2 separate regions of the Homo sapiens genome follow, and region 1 is linked to region 2. The links are contacts of gene promoters, found by promoter capture Hi-C in human tissues and cell types (Jung and others, 2019). All regions are on one chromosome and are shown on one strand. The core of a region is centred on a gene start or on the middle of the fragment in contact, and the rest is flanking DNA. Distances in the headings are between cores, read along the strand shown.

Region 1 (6,707 bases), core at 3,847-6,346, 41 kb after region 2:
CTGACTTCCACAATGGTTGAACTAGTTTACAGTCCCACCAACAGTGTAAAAGTGTTCCTATTTCTCCACATCCTCTCCAGCACCTGTTGTTTCCTGACTTTTTAATGATTGCCATTCTAACTGGTGTGAGATGATATCTCATAGTGGTTTTGATTTGCATTTCTCTGATGGCCAGTGATGATGAGCATTTCTTCATGTGTCTGTTGGCTGCATAAATGTCTTCTTTTGAGAAGTGTCTGTTCATGTCCTTTGCCCACTTTTTGATGGGGTTGTTTGTTTTTTTCTTGTAAATTTGTTTGAGTTCATTGTAGATTCTGGATATTAGCCCTTTGTCAGATGAGTAGGTTGAGAAAATTTTCTCCCATGTTGTAGGTTGCCCGTTCACTCTGATGGTAGTTTCTTTTGCTGTGCAGAAGCTCTTTAGTTTAATTAGATCCCATTTGTCAATTTTGGCTTTTGTTGCCATTGCTTTTGGTGTTTTGGACATGAAGTCCTTGCCCACGCCTATGTCCTGAATGGTAATGCCTAGGTTTTCTTCTAGGGTTTTTATGGTTTTAGGTCTAACGTTTAAATCTTTAATCCATCTTGAATTGATTTTTGTATAAGGTGTAAGGAAGGGATCCAGTTTCAGCTTTCTACATATGGCTAGCCAGTTTTCCCAGCACCATTTATTAAATAGGGAATCCTTTCCCCATTGCTTGTTTTTCTCAGGTTTGTCAAAGATCAGATAGTTGTAGATATGTGGCATTATTTCTGAGGGCTCTGTTCTGTTCCATTGATCTATATCTCTGTTTTGGTACCAGTACCATGCTGTTTTGGTTACTGTAGCCTTGTAGTATAGTTTGAAGTCAGGTAGTGTGATGCCTCCAGCTTTGTTCTTTTGGCTTAGGATTGACTTGGCGATGCGGGCTCTTTTTTGGTTCCATATGAACTTTAAAGTAGTTTTTTCCAATTCTGTGAAGAAAGTCATTGGTAGCTTGATGGGGATGGCATTGAATCTGTAAATTACCTTGGGCAGTATGGCCATTTTCACGATATTGATTCTTCCTACCCATGAGCATGGAATGTTCTTCCATTTGTTTGTGTCCTCTTTTATTTCCTTGAGCAGTGGTTTGTAGTTCTCCTTGAAGAGGTCCTTCACATCCCTTGTAAGTTGGATTCCTAGGTATTTTATTCTCTTTGAAGCAATTGTGAATGGGAGTTCACTCATGATTTGGCTCTCTGTTTGTCTGTTGTTGGTGTATAAGAATGCTTGTGATTTTTGTACATTGATTTTGTATCCTGAGACTTTGCTGAAGTTGCTTATCAGCTTAAGGAGATTTTGGGCTGAGACGATGGGGTTTTCTAGATAAACAATCATGTCGTCTGCAAACAGGGACAATTTGACTTCCTCTTTTCCTAATTGAATACCCTTTATTTCCTTCTCCTGCCTGATTGCCCTGGCCAGAACTTCCAACACTATGTTGAATAGGAGCGGTGAGAGAGGGCATCCCTGTCTTGTGCCAGTTTTCAAAGGGAATGCTTCCAGTTTTTGCCCATTCAGTATGATATTGGCTGTGGGTTTGTCATAGATAGCTCTTATTATTTTGAAATACGTCCCATCAATACCTAATTTATTGAGAGTTTTTAGCATGAAGGGTTGTTGAATTTTGTCAAAGGCTTTTTCTGCATCTATTGAGATAATCATGTGGTTTTTGTCTTTGGCTCTGTTTATATGCTGGATTACATTTATTGATTTGCGTATATTGAACCAGCCTTGCATCCCAGGGATGAAGCCCACTTGATCATGGTGGATAAGCTTTTTGATGTGCTGCTGGATTTGGTTTGCCAGTATTTTATTGAGGATTTTTGCATCAATGTTCATCAAGGATATTGGTCTAAAATTCTCTTTTTTGGTTGTGTCTCTGCCCGGCTTTGGTATCAGAATGATGCTGGCCTCATAAAATCAGTTAGGGAGGATTCCCTCTTTTTCTACTGATTGGAATAGTTTCAGAAGGAATGGTACCAGTTCCTCCTTGCACCTCTGGTAGAATTCGGCTGTGAATCCATCTGGTCCTGGACTCTTTTTGGTTGGTAAACTATTGATTATTGCCACAATTTCAGATCCTGTTATTGGTCTATTCAGAGATTCAACTTCTTCCTGGTTTAGTCTTGGGAGAGTGTATGTGTCGAGGAATGTATCCATTTCTTCTAGATTTTCTAGTTTATTTGCATAGAGGTGTTTGTAGTATTCTCTGATGGTAGTTTGTATTTCTGTGGGATCGGTGGTGATATCCCCTTTATCATTTTTTATTGTGTCTATTTGATTCTTCTCTCTTTTTTTCTTTATTAGTCTTGCTAGCGGTCTATCAATTTTGTTGATCCTTTCAAAAAACCAGCTCCTGGATTCATTGATTTTTTGAAGGGTTTTTTGTGTCTCTATTTCCTTCAGTTCTGTTCTGATTTTAGTTATTTCTTGCCTTCTGCTAGCTTTTGAATGTGTTTGCTCTTGCTTTTCTAGTTCTTTTAATTGTGATGTTAGGGTGTCAATTTTGGATCTTTCCTGCTTTCTCTTGTAGGCATTTAGAGCTATAAATTTCCCTCTACACACTGCTTTGAATGCGTCCCAGAGATTCTGGTATGTGGTGTCTTTGCTCTCGTTGGTTTCAAAGAACATCTTTATTTCTGCCTTCATTTCGTTATGTACCCAGTAGTCATTCAGGAGCAGGTTGTTCAGTTTCCATGTAGTTGAGCGGCTTTGAGTGAGATTCTTAATCCTGAGTTCTAGTTTGATTGCACTGTGGTCTGAGAGATAGTTTGTTATAATTTCTGTTCTTTTACATTTGCTGAGGAGAGCTTTACTTCCAACTATGTGGTCAATTTTGGAATAGGTGTGGTGTGGTGCTGAAAAAAATGTATATTCTGTTGATTTGGGGTGGAGAGTTCTGTAGATGTCTATTAGGTCCGCTTGGTGCAGAGCTGAGTTCAATTCCTGGGTATCCTTGTTAACTTTCTGTCTCGTTGATCTGTCTAATGTTGACAGTGGGGTGTTAAAGTCTCCCATTATTAATGTGTGGGAGTCTAAGTCTCTTTGTAGGTCACTCAGGACTTGCTTTATGAATCTGGGTGCTCCTGTATTGGGTGCATAAATATTTAGGATAGTTAGCTCCTCTTGTTGAATTGATCCCTTTACCATTATGTAATGGCCTTCTTTGTCTCTTTTGATCTTTGTTGGTTTAAAGTCTGTTTTATCAGAGACTAGGATTGCAACCCCTGCCTTTTTTTGTTTTCCATTGGCTTGGTAAATCTTCCTCCATCCTTTTATTTTGAGCCTATGTGTGTCTCTGCACGTGAGATGGGTTTCCTGAATACAGCACACTGATGGGTCTTGACTCTTTATCCAACTTGCCAGTCTGTGTCTTTTAATTGCAGAATTTAGTCCATTTATATTTAAAGTTAATATTGTTATGTGTGAATTTGATCCTGTCATTATGATGTTAGCTGGTGATTTTGCTTGTTAGTTGATGCAGTTTCTTCCTAGTCTCGATGGTCTTTACATTTTGGCATGATTTTGCAGCGGCTGGTACCGGTTGTTCCTTTCCATGTTTAGCGCTTCCTTCAGGAGCTCTTTTAGGGCAGGCCTGGTGGTGACAAAATCTCTCAGCATTTGCTTGTCTATAAAGTATTTTATTTCTCCTTCACTTATGAAGCTTAGTTTGGCTGGATATGAAATTCTGGGTTGAAAATTCTTTTCTTTAAGAATGTTGAATATTGGCCCCCACTCTCTTCTGGCTTGTAGGGTTTCTGCCGAGAGATCCGCTGTTAGTCTGATGGGCTTTCCTTTGAGGGTAACCCGATCTTTCTCTCTGGCTGCCCTTAACATTTTTTCCTTCATTTCAACTTTGTTGAATCTGACAATTATGTGTCTTGGAGTTGCTCTTCTCGAGGAGTATCTTTGTGGCGTTCTCTGTATTTCCTGAATCTGAACGTTGGCCTGCCTTGCTAGATTGGGGAAGTTCTCCTGGATAATATCCTGCAGAGTGTTTTCCAACTTGGTTCCCTTCTCCACATCACTTTCAGGTACACCAATCAGACGTAGATTTGGTCTTTTCACATAGTCCCATATTTCTTGGAGGCTTTGCTCATTTCTTTTTATTCTTTTTTCTCTAAACTTCCCTTCTCGCTTCATTTCATTCATTTCATCTTCCATTGCTGATACCCTTTCTTCCAGTTGATCGCATCGGCTCCTGAGGCTTCTGCATTCTTCACGTGGTTCTCGAGCCTTGGGTTTTCAGCTCCATCAGCTCCTTTAAGCACTTCTCTGTATTGGTTATTCTAGTTATACATTCTTCTAAATTTTTTCAAAGTTTTCAACTTCTTTGCCTTTGGTTTGAATGTCCTTCCATAGCTCAGAGTAATTTGATCGTCTGAAGCCTTCTTCTCTCAGCTCGTCAAAATCATTCTCCATCCAGCTTTGTTCCATTGCTGGTGAGGAACTGCGTTCCTTTGGAGGAGGAGAGGTGCTCTGCGTTTTAGAGTTTCCAGTTTTTCTGTTCTGTTTTTTCCCCATCTTTGTGGTTTTATCTACTTTTGGTCTTTGATGATGGTGATGTACAGATGGGTTTTCGGTGTAGATGTCCTTTCTGGTTGTTAGTTTTCCTTCTAACAGACAGGACCCTCAGCTGCAGGTCTGTTGGAATACCCTGCCGTGTGAGGTGTCAGTGTGCCCCTGCTGGGGGGTGCCTCCCAGTTAGGCTGCTCGGGGGTCAGGGGTCAGGGACCCACTTGAGGAGGCAGTCTGCCCGTTCTCAGATCTCCAGCTGCGTGCTGGGAGAACCACTGCTCTCTTCAAAGCTGTCAGACAGGGACACTTAAGTCTGCAGAGGTTACTGCTGTCTTTTTGTTTGTCTGTGCCCTGCCCCCAGAGGTGGAGCCTACAGAGGCAGGCAGGCCTCCTTGAGCTGTGGTGGGCTCCACCCAGTTCGAGCTTCCCAGCTGCTTTGTTTACCTAAGCAAGCCTGGGCAATGGTGGGCGCCCCTCCCCCAGCCTCGTTGCCGCCTTGCAGTTTGATCTCAGACTGCTGTGCTAGCAATCAGTGAGATTCCGTGGGCGTAGGACCCTCTGAGCCAGGTGTGGGATATAGTCTCGTGGTGCGCCGTTTTTTAAGCCGGTCTGAAAAGCGCAATATTCGGGTGGGAGTGACCCGATTTTCCAGGTGCGTCTGTCACCCCTTTCTTTGACTCGGAAAGGGAACTCCCTGACCCCTTGCGCTTCCCAGGTGAGGCAATGCCTTGCCCTGCTTCGGCTCGCGCACGGTGCACGCACACACTGGCCTGCGCCCACTGTCTGGCACTCCCTAGTGAGATGAACCCGGTACCTCAGATGGAAATGCAGAAATCACCCGTCTTCTGCGTCGCTCACGCTGGGAGCTGTAGACCGGAGCTGTTCCTATTCGGCCATCTTGGCTCCTCCCTGGAATAATGTTTTTAAATGCATAAAATAGAATTACATAGAACTAAATAGGAAACCAATTATATTGACATAAAGTTATCAAAATATTTAAAAAACAAATGTGTTTTCATAATATGTCTTTTTTATTGTGTTAAATGACAAGATCTAGTGACAGTTCTAAAAACTATCGCAACTTTGAAGTAGTGATGAATGTAAATTGAGAAAGTTGAAAAATCTCCCATGATATGAAAATAATAGTTTTTCATATTTTGACAGTCACAGAAACTGCTTATAGAAAGTACTAGAGTTTTGTTTTTTCCCATAATTCTAAATGTAAATTCACATTTAGAATTCTAAATATGAATTCACATTTAGAATTATGGGAAATGCTAAAGCTTAGAGATTAATAAAAATAAAGATGTAATTTTTTCTCCATCCAAGTCCATGGACCTCCTTAAACCCAGGGCAAGATCCTTTGGTAATGAAATCAGTGGTTCTCATCCCCCAGGGGACATTTGGCAATGTTCTAGAGACATTTTTGGTTGTTTCTCCTGGGGGAGGGGTATTGGCATCTAATGGGTAAAGGCCAAAGATGCTACTAAATATCCTCCAACACACAGCACGTCCTCCTACAACAAACAATTATCCAGCCCAAAATGTGAACTGTGCTGAGATCCAAGAACACTTGGATCTGGAGAAACTAGAGTCTGAATGAAGAAGATTCTCCAAAGAGAGCTGAGAAACTGACCTTGCACATACCACACACCCTGTCGTTAGGAAACCTGAAAAGCATATTGCCCCTACTTGCACCCTCAGTGTTGCTAGTGTCTACAAGTTGTTCCCATGGTAACACAATTCAAGGCAGACACAGGAAAGAGCACAAGTACAATATGGGTAAAGGAACTGCGTATGTTTTTAAGAGAAAAGCAACTCACTGATAAAAAGACATTTCATTTGGTTTTGAAAGTTTGGAAGTTCATCAAAAAGTAAGTAATAAAGCCTCTCCTTCCCCACTCTCATGCCAGGAAAAAAAGGCAGGATTGTGATTCACAAGGTTTGTGCTTCTTATAACACCTAAGTTCCCCAGAATGAAAATAGTGTTTGAGACTTAGATCCAGTGAAGACAATCTGGATATCATTTTGTGACATCCAGAGTGGGTTGAGGGTGGTGCTTAAAGATGAAACAGAAATGTGCTGATCTGGAGGCGAGAGGCTGGCTTTCCTGAGACTGGCAGCTAATATGAGGGATGGTAACAGATTCCCCTCTTGATCAAAT
Region 2 (6,987 bases), core at 1,645-4,144:
ACTGTTAAAATTTTCTCAGTGATATAATTTTTGCAAAGGTGGTTTCTACTCCCCAGCTACCACCCCTCTTGTCTAGTCATCTTATTCCTTGCCCCAGAAACCACAGACCTCCCTACAATGTAGCAACTCAGGGGTTAACCTTGACACACCAGGAACCCTCCCAGACCTCCCCAAGCTCGAAAGACCTGTGGCCTTGTCCCTTGAGGCCCTAAGGCTCTACTAATCATTATTTATTTTGACCATCACCCCTGGGTCTAAGTGTCCTAGCACAAAGACCAATAAAACAGAAGTTGGCATTTTAGAGGGTCTCAGTTATTATCGCATTCTAATTTTTGAGTCAGAAGAGTAATTTTCCTAGAATCAAAGAATGGGCTAGTTGGAGATTTTTTTAATGCTCTTCTTTTAGTTAAACAAACAACATGATTTTGCGGGGGAATAAATATCCCCCAACTTTATGTCATTAAAGACAGTGTGTGGTACTATAACGGTATTCCCCAAAGTCATCTAGAAATTATCAATGAAGGAAAATACATATTATAAATTTCTGCTAGGCAACATTTAAACTGGAAAAGCAGTGGTCTTAAATGAGTTTAAATATTTTTTTTCTGAATTTTTTCTCTTTATTTTCAGAATTGAAAAGCAAGAACTACAACAAAATGCCTCTTACCTAAAGTAGACCTTAATATGCAACTGAAATTCAATAAAGATACATTTTTTAAAGTCTGTTTTGTTTTTTAATGTCCAATTACCAAATGGGTTAAGAGCACATACTTGAAGCCCAGCTTTCTTGGTTAGCATCTTGGTTCCACACTTACTGGTTATGTGTGCATAGGCCAGTTACTCAATCTTTGTGTGCCTCCATTTCCTCAGCTGTAAAGTGGGGGTAGTAGTATCTACCTTACAGGATTTTCATGAAGATTTATAAAGCAAATATTTACAAAGAGATTAGAATAGTGCTTGCCACATAGTAAATGCTATCCAAGTGTTTGTTAAATAAAAAATAAGCACCATAGATCACGTTTACCATCATTACTAATTTTTGATAAAGACAAAATTTTAAGTTGGAAATCCAAAGAAAACGTTTAAATAGAAGTCTAAGTTTTGGGCCGGGCTAGGTGGCTCACGCCTGTAATCCCAGCCCTTTGGGAGGCCGAGGTAGGCGGATCACGAGGTCAGGAGATTGAGAGCATGCTGGTTAACACGGTGAAACCCCATCTCTACTAAAAAAAAAAATACAAAAAATTAGCCGGGCGTGGTGGGGGGCGCCTGTAGTCCCAGCTACTCGGGAGGCTGAGGCAGGAGAATGGCGTGAACCCAGGAGGCGGAGCTTGCAGTGAGCCGAGATCGCGCCACTGCACTCCAGCCTGGGCGACAGAGCGAGACTCCGTCTCAAAAAAAACCAAACCAAGCCAAACAAACAAACAAGCAAACAAAAAGAAGTCTAAGTTTTAAGGCTTGTTATGGAAAATTGGCATAAATCTCCCTCGCTTTCAACTTTCACCTATTCCACTCTCCGTGGTGTTCCTTCTCTGCAAAGTCATCCATATGTATTATAAAAGTGGGTGCCTTGGACTGGTATGTTGACTAATTTGTTCTTAGCTCTTCTCTCATCCGCCTAAGAACAAGAAAAACAAGATTGAGGCCTCTGCTATGAAACTCTTAGGTAATAAAATTAATAGCACTGTTCATGCCTACTTAGAACAAAGGCTACCTGAGTACATGAGAATATTTTCCTCAGTGTTAAAATGCCAGAGCACAAAGGCACCCCAGTTCTCCCTGGTGAGGGTTTGAGCCCGAATTGTTCACTACCCCACCCCTCACCTTTTTTTTTCTTGAGACAGGGTCTCACTCTGTTGCCTGGACTAGAGTGCAGTGGTTCGATCATGTCTCACTGTAGCCTCCACCTCCTGGGCTCAAGTCATCCGTCCTCCCACCTCAGCCTCCTGAGTAGCTGAGACTACAGGAGTACACCACCACATCTGGCTAATTTTTGTAGAGACAGGGTTTCACCATGATGCCCAGGCTAGTCTCGAACTTGTGGACTCAAGAGAGCCACTCGCCTCAACCTCCCAAAGTGCTGTGATTACAGGGGTGAGCCACCCGCCAGCCCTGCCCACTCCTTGTTTTGTAAATACCTGCTATCAGGTCTTCCAACCTTGGTTTGGTTACTTAACCTCACTCTTTGCCTCTAATCCCTCATCTGTAAACTGAGCGTTAATAGACTGCTGTGAGATTTAATTAATACATAATGTGCCTGCATATGTATGGTATAACAAGGATATCATAAACATTAGTTATTAATAATTCGTGGAAATAAGTCTTTCCAGTTTTGGCATTGCTTTTCCCTTAAAGGTTTATTTCAAATACCCCTATGACCCAGAAAATGGGGCAGGGTAGGGGGAGTTGCCTGCTGGAGACAGAACGGAGAGTGGATGGATATAGCGGGCGTGGACGGACAGCGACAGAAGCTGATAACAGCACAGAAGGGCAAAGTCTGCTCAGCAGCCCCCAAAATAAACTTGAGCCTGGCAATCGGCGCAGAACCCCAGCAGTCAGCAGCTTCGGTGCAAAGCAACTAACACCTGAAGGCTTCCAAAAGCAGCAGGGCTCTCTCTAGCGGGGGAGCCTTTTCGACCAGAGAGGAGCCAGAAGGGGGCCTCAGTGCAGCCTCCACTCCACTCAATTCCCGGAGTTACCTTGGCGGGCTCCACGCTCCGAGAGACGCTGTTGCTCTATGAGGCGTGTCTGTGTTTCTCTAGTTCGCGGCTCCAGCAGTCGCGCCAAGGGGCAGCTGCTACTCCTGCCAGATACACCAGTTATCACAGGCCGCTCCCAGGCCTGCGGGGGCCCTGAGAATTCGCAACAAGCCCCGGGCAGCAGGGCTCGGCTGGCGCTGAGGCCCCGCCTGGCCATGCCCATTGGCGGAGGCTGCCCCGGGGGCGGGGTCAGGGCGCCCCATTCCCAGACCCCGCAGCCCCGCCCGCCGCGGGTGCGTGTGGAGAGGCCCAGGTGAGGAGCAAGCGCCCGCGTTCCGGAAGCCCGCTCCCGGGGCCATGGGGGCACAGGTGAGGCTGCCGCCCGGAGAGCCCTGCCGAGAAGGTTTGTGTCTGCCCTGAGCCGAGGGACCTGGCAGCTGGGTGGCGAAGAGACCGGGTGGGCGGTCCCCGGACACTTGCGGAGACTGGAAAGGGGGGCTGTACCGACTCTAAACGTAGTCGTTCACTCATTCATTCATTCAGTCAGTCGGCCGTCCAGCCAGGCGTTCAACACTTATTTATGGGTGCCTAGGCGATTCGGGCTGTGCTGGAAAACCTGAGTGGAATAAGGCAGGTGGGACTCCCACTCGATTCGCGAGGCCGACCAGTGTAAATTACCGCGTGCTGCGTGTGGGACGGGGAAACTCAGGATGCTATGGGAAGAATCCCGAGTCCCTCTGAGAAGGACGTTTCCTCTGACTCAGGCTCCCTTCCAGAGTCTGCGGCCGACGTCACCCGGTGGGCAGAGGGCGTGTCTGCCTGGGGGGCCCGTGGGAGTTCTGCGCTGCGCCCTGCGCTGGCTCCCGGGGATCGAGCACCGCGAGAGGTTGGGCGCCCGGGGCCGCGGGGGTGGGCGTTGGGCAAGTCTGGGCCGCCCACGTCTCTCCTCTTCCTTGGAAATGAAAAGGTCTCCAAACCCATGAGCCTGTCTGACTCGCTGTGCAGTCACTCTGGCTGCTTAAGGCGAGAGCCGTACTGGAGAGGAAACCTGGAACCGGGAGCACTCGTTTGCAGGCTCTTCTTACTGCTTCTCACCTGAGCCCCGTGAAATCTCTGGGCGAGGCTCCTTGCCCTTCGCCAAGTGTTCGCAACACTGGCGGGTTTTCTGCAGTCTCCATACAGAAGGCCCCGATAAAAGTAGGGAAGGGGGTAGGGGGAGCGACTGGAAGGATGTAGATACATTGAAATGATGGTTTTCGCCGTACCAAGGGGAAAGCAGCTTTTTAATTTACCTGATAATGCAGTAAAGGGGAAGGGAGGCAGTGAAAGGCATGGTAAGAACTACTATATATATACACATATATATATAGTTCCCTTACACATATATATATATATATATGTATATACATATACACCTTTGCAAAGGTGCTCGCAACTTCCCTAGTTTCCTCTCCTCTTGACTCTTCCAGCTTATTCCTTTTTAACAAGTGAGCTCGTCCAAACCATGCTAGCAAGGAAGAGAAGGGACACCAAAAAAAGGAGAAAAATGCCTGAACAATTCACAAGCTATTAAAAAAAATTTTTTAAGGCCGCTGGATCTAGAATTATTTTCTAGTCTTTTTTTCTGAAAAAGAGCAATAACGCCTGAACAACTCACAAACTATTAAAAAACAAAAATTTTAAGGCAGCTGAATCTAGAATTATTTCCTAGAGAGTCAGGTTGTGTGCCCTTTTTCTAAATAATTTCTAACCCAGCAAATCTGACAGTTACTAACACACCCACACTTGTTTACCCAAGGATCTGTAAGTAAGGAAGGTATATGAATTACACCCACTTGTTTGAGCTTCTGGATGTTTTTCCTGCTTTGCTTATGCATTGAGTTCCAACAAGAAACATTTAAGCTCCAGGCTTAATACCTGTGATTAACCATGGTAATTAATTGTGTGAAAAGCTGGTGAGAAAGACTTAGAAATCTGAATGCACGTTATTAGTAGTGGGAAGAGATTAGGCTTTGGCATCAGACAGTCTGAGCTGTAACTTAGCTTCCTTGAGCATTTTCCTGTCTATAAATTGGGGGTCATCCCTCCAGTTTACAGTTCTGAAGAGTAGGTGCAGGTGGGATTACATATGAACTACACCACTCAGAGCTTGACATGGAGTAAACAAAGACTCAATTTTTCACTTGTTCATTCAAATAACAAGAGTCCCATGTGCCAAGCACTGGCATAGGTGCTGGGATAGAGGGATCTGCAAGACAGTCTGGTCCCAGACTCTAGGACTAGGTTCCTGCTCTCAGGCACCTTACTGTTCAGATGGCAGCTACTATGCAAGAAACAAAGTAATTTAAAAGATCATTATAATAGCAGTAATGTATCAAGAGTGTTGGGATGTTTAGATTGGGTATTCAATGAAAGCCCCTTACGAAAGTGATATTCAAGCTGAGACCCAAATGACAAGGGGTCAGTCATGAGATCTGAAGATAGAACATTCCAGTTGAACTTCCATGAAGAAAAAGTTAATTTCATACTTTGGTTTTGACTTTTTTTTGTTTTTTTGAGGCGGAGTGCCACTCCGTCACCCAGGATGGCATGCAGTGGTGCAATTTCAGCTCACTGCAACTTCCACCTGGGTTCAAGCAATTCTCCTGCCTCAGCCTCTCAAGTAGCTGGGAATACAGGCACATGCCACCATGCCCAGCTAATTTTTGTATTTTTAATACGGGTTTCACTGTGTTGACCAGGCTGGTCTTGAACTCCTGACTTCAAGTGATACTCCTACCTTGGCATCCCAAAGTGCTGGGTTTACAGGCATGAGCCATCCCCCACCCCACATTGGTTTTGACTTTTAAAGCTATAGATGCTTCAAAAGAGTCTCTAATCCAAAATTATCTTTAAAAGAAACAAATGCAAATATGTATGAAGGTTGTTATAAAGCTGTAATTAAGCCATATGAGGAAGTCTATTTGATTGGGAACATATGATGGAAAGTGACTGAGAGGTTCCTTTAGATTGGGAAGGCAGGAAAGGCCTCTCTGAGTTGCTTAGTCCTCTCACTCAGAAGAAGCTAGCTATGCCAGCCAGCACTCTGTAACAGGCTCAGGAACAGCTGCTTTTTAAAAAGCTTAAGGTGAGAAGGAACTTATTCTATGAAAGGAACAGAAGAAAAGGCAATAGTAGGGAATGAGGTTAGGCAGCTGGAGACAGGATTCCACAGGGCCTTATAGGCTATAGTGGGAATTTTGGATTTTTTTCGGAATGAGAAGGGAAGCCCTTGTGGAGTTTTGGAAGGAGGAATGACAAGATCAGACCTACTTGTCTAAAGGTTCATTTCACCTGATCCTTCTCCCACCTACTCTTTAGCCACATCTCATACCATCTCCCTTTCTGTCACCCCAGGCAACCTGGCTGACTGCAGTTTCTTCAACCCCTCAGGGTTTCTGCTTTTAGACTTAGCAGAGAGGCTCTTTTGTTTAATCCTGTTTTAAAAAATATATTCCTTGATGCTGCTTTTACTACTTGCTATGGCACTCTTAACATACGTATAGTTATTTGTTTGTTAATCCTATCTGCCCCCACTGGAATATAAGAGAGCGGGACCATTGTTGTATTCATTTTTCTATCTCCAGATTCTAGAAAATGCCCAACAGGTAGTACACCATACATATTTGTTGAATGAAGGAAAAGAAGATTAGTGTTTCAGAGAGGGGTGAGAGGGAGAGTAATGCAATATGATGTCAGAGACGAGCCAGTTTCAGAGCATGAGAAGCTTTAAAGTTCAAAGTTAGTGAGGAGTTGAGATTTTGTTGTAAGTTGAGATGAAAAACCATGACAGGGGACAGGGAGTATTAAGCCAGGGAGTGATATAACCTACTTCCCACTGGTTAGCGTTTGGAGAATAAATTGTAACAGATATAAAGAGATTTCATTCAGTCATTCCCATGCTAATATGAATAGGCAGGTATATCACATATTCTTGCTTAGGTTTCTAGGTCAGCTGAAGGTTGACTGATCTAGATGGGGCTCACCTATATGTCTCTGCTTCAGGCTAATGTCCACCTGGGTTTGGCTCCTTCATGTGGGATGAGCTCAGATCTGCTCCATGTGTCTTCATTTGGGTGCAGAGGCTGAAGGGACAGCAGCTCCTCAGGGAATTACAGAGATGCAAATGAGTAAACCCAACCACATAAGCATCTTTGAAATCTAGCTTCATATCACTTCTGCTGACTTCCCATTGGCCACCAACTTACTTCCAGCCCAACATCAGGTGAAGCACCTTTGCCCACATTGGGAA

Evidence for each region. Contacts are between HindIII fragments. The study calls those that stand out against the background at their distance.
Region 1: a fragment that was not itself captured here is called in contact with the fragment with the promoter of CNGA1 in region 2 in 1 of the 25 tissues and cell types used here (lymphoblastoid cells).

Annotation. Positions count from the first base shown.
Region 1 is chr4:48,052,532-48,059,238 of GRCh38, forward strand. No RefSeq gene overlaps it. Among named protein-coding and RNA genes, the nearest start is that of NIPAL1, 39 kb to the left of the region's middle. The HindIII fragment of the contact is 4,706 bases long and covers 2,744-6,707 here.
Region 2 is chr4:48,013,787-48,020,773 of GRCh38, forward strand. CNGA1 (cyclic nucleotide gated channel subunit alpha 1) reads right to left here and starts at 2,895. Exons shown (of 11, transcript NM_001379270.1): 1 at 2,697-2,895. NIPAL1 (NIPA like domain containing 1) reads left to right here and starts at 2,986. Exons shown (of 6, transcript NM_207330.3): 1 at 2,986-3,099. The coding sequence starts at 3,054. RefSeq lists an enhancer at 2,576-3,077 and silencers at 2,842-3,171, 3,462-3,621. The HindIII fragment of the contact is 8,867 bases long and covers 1-6,139 here.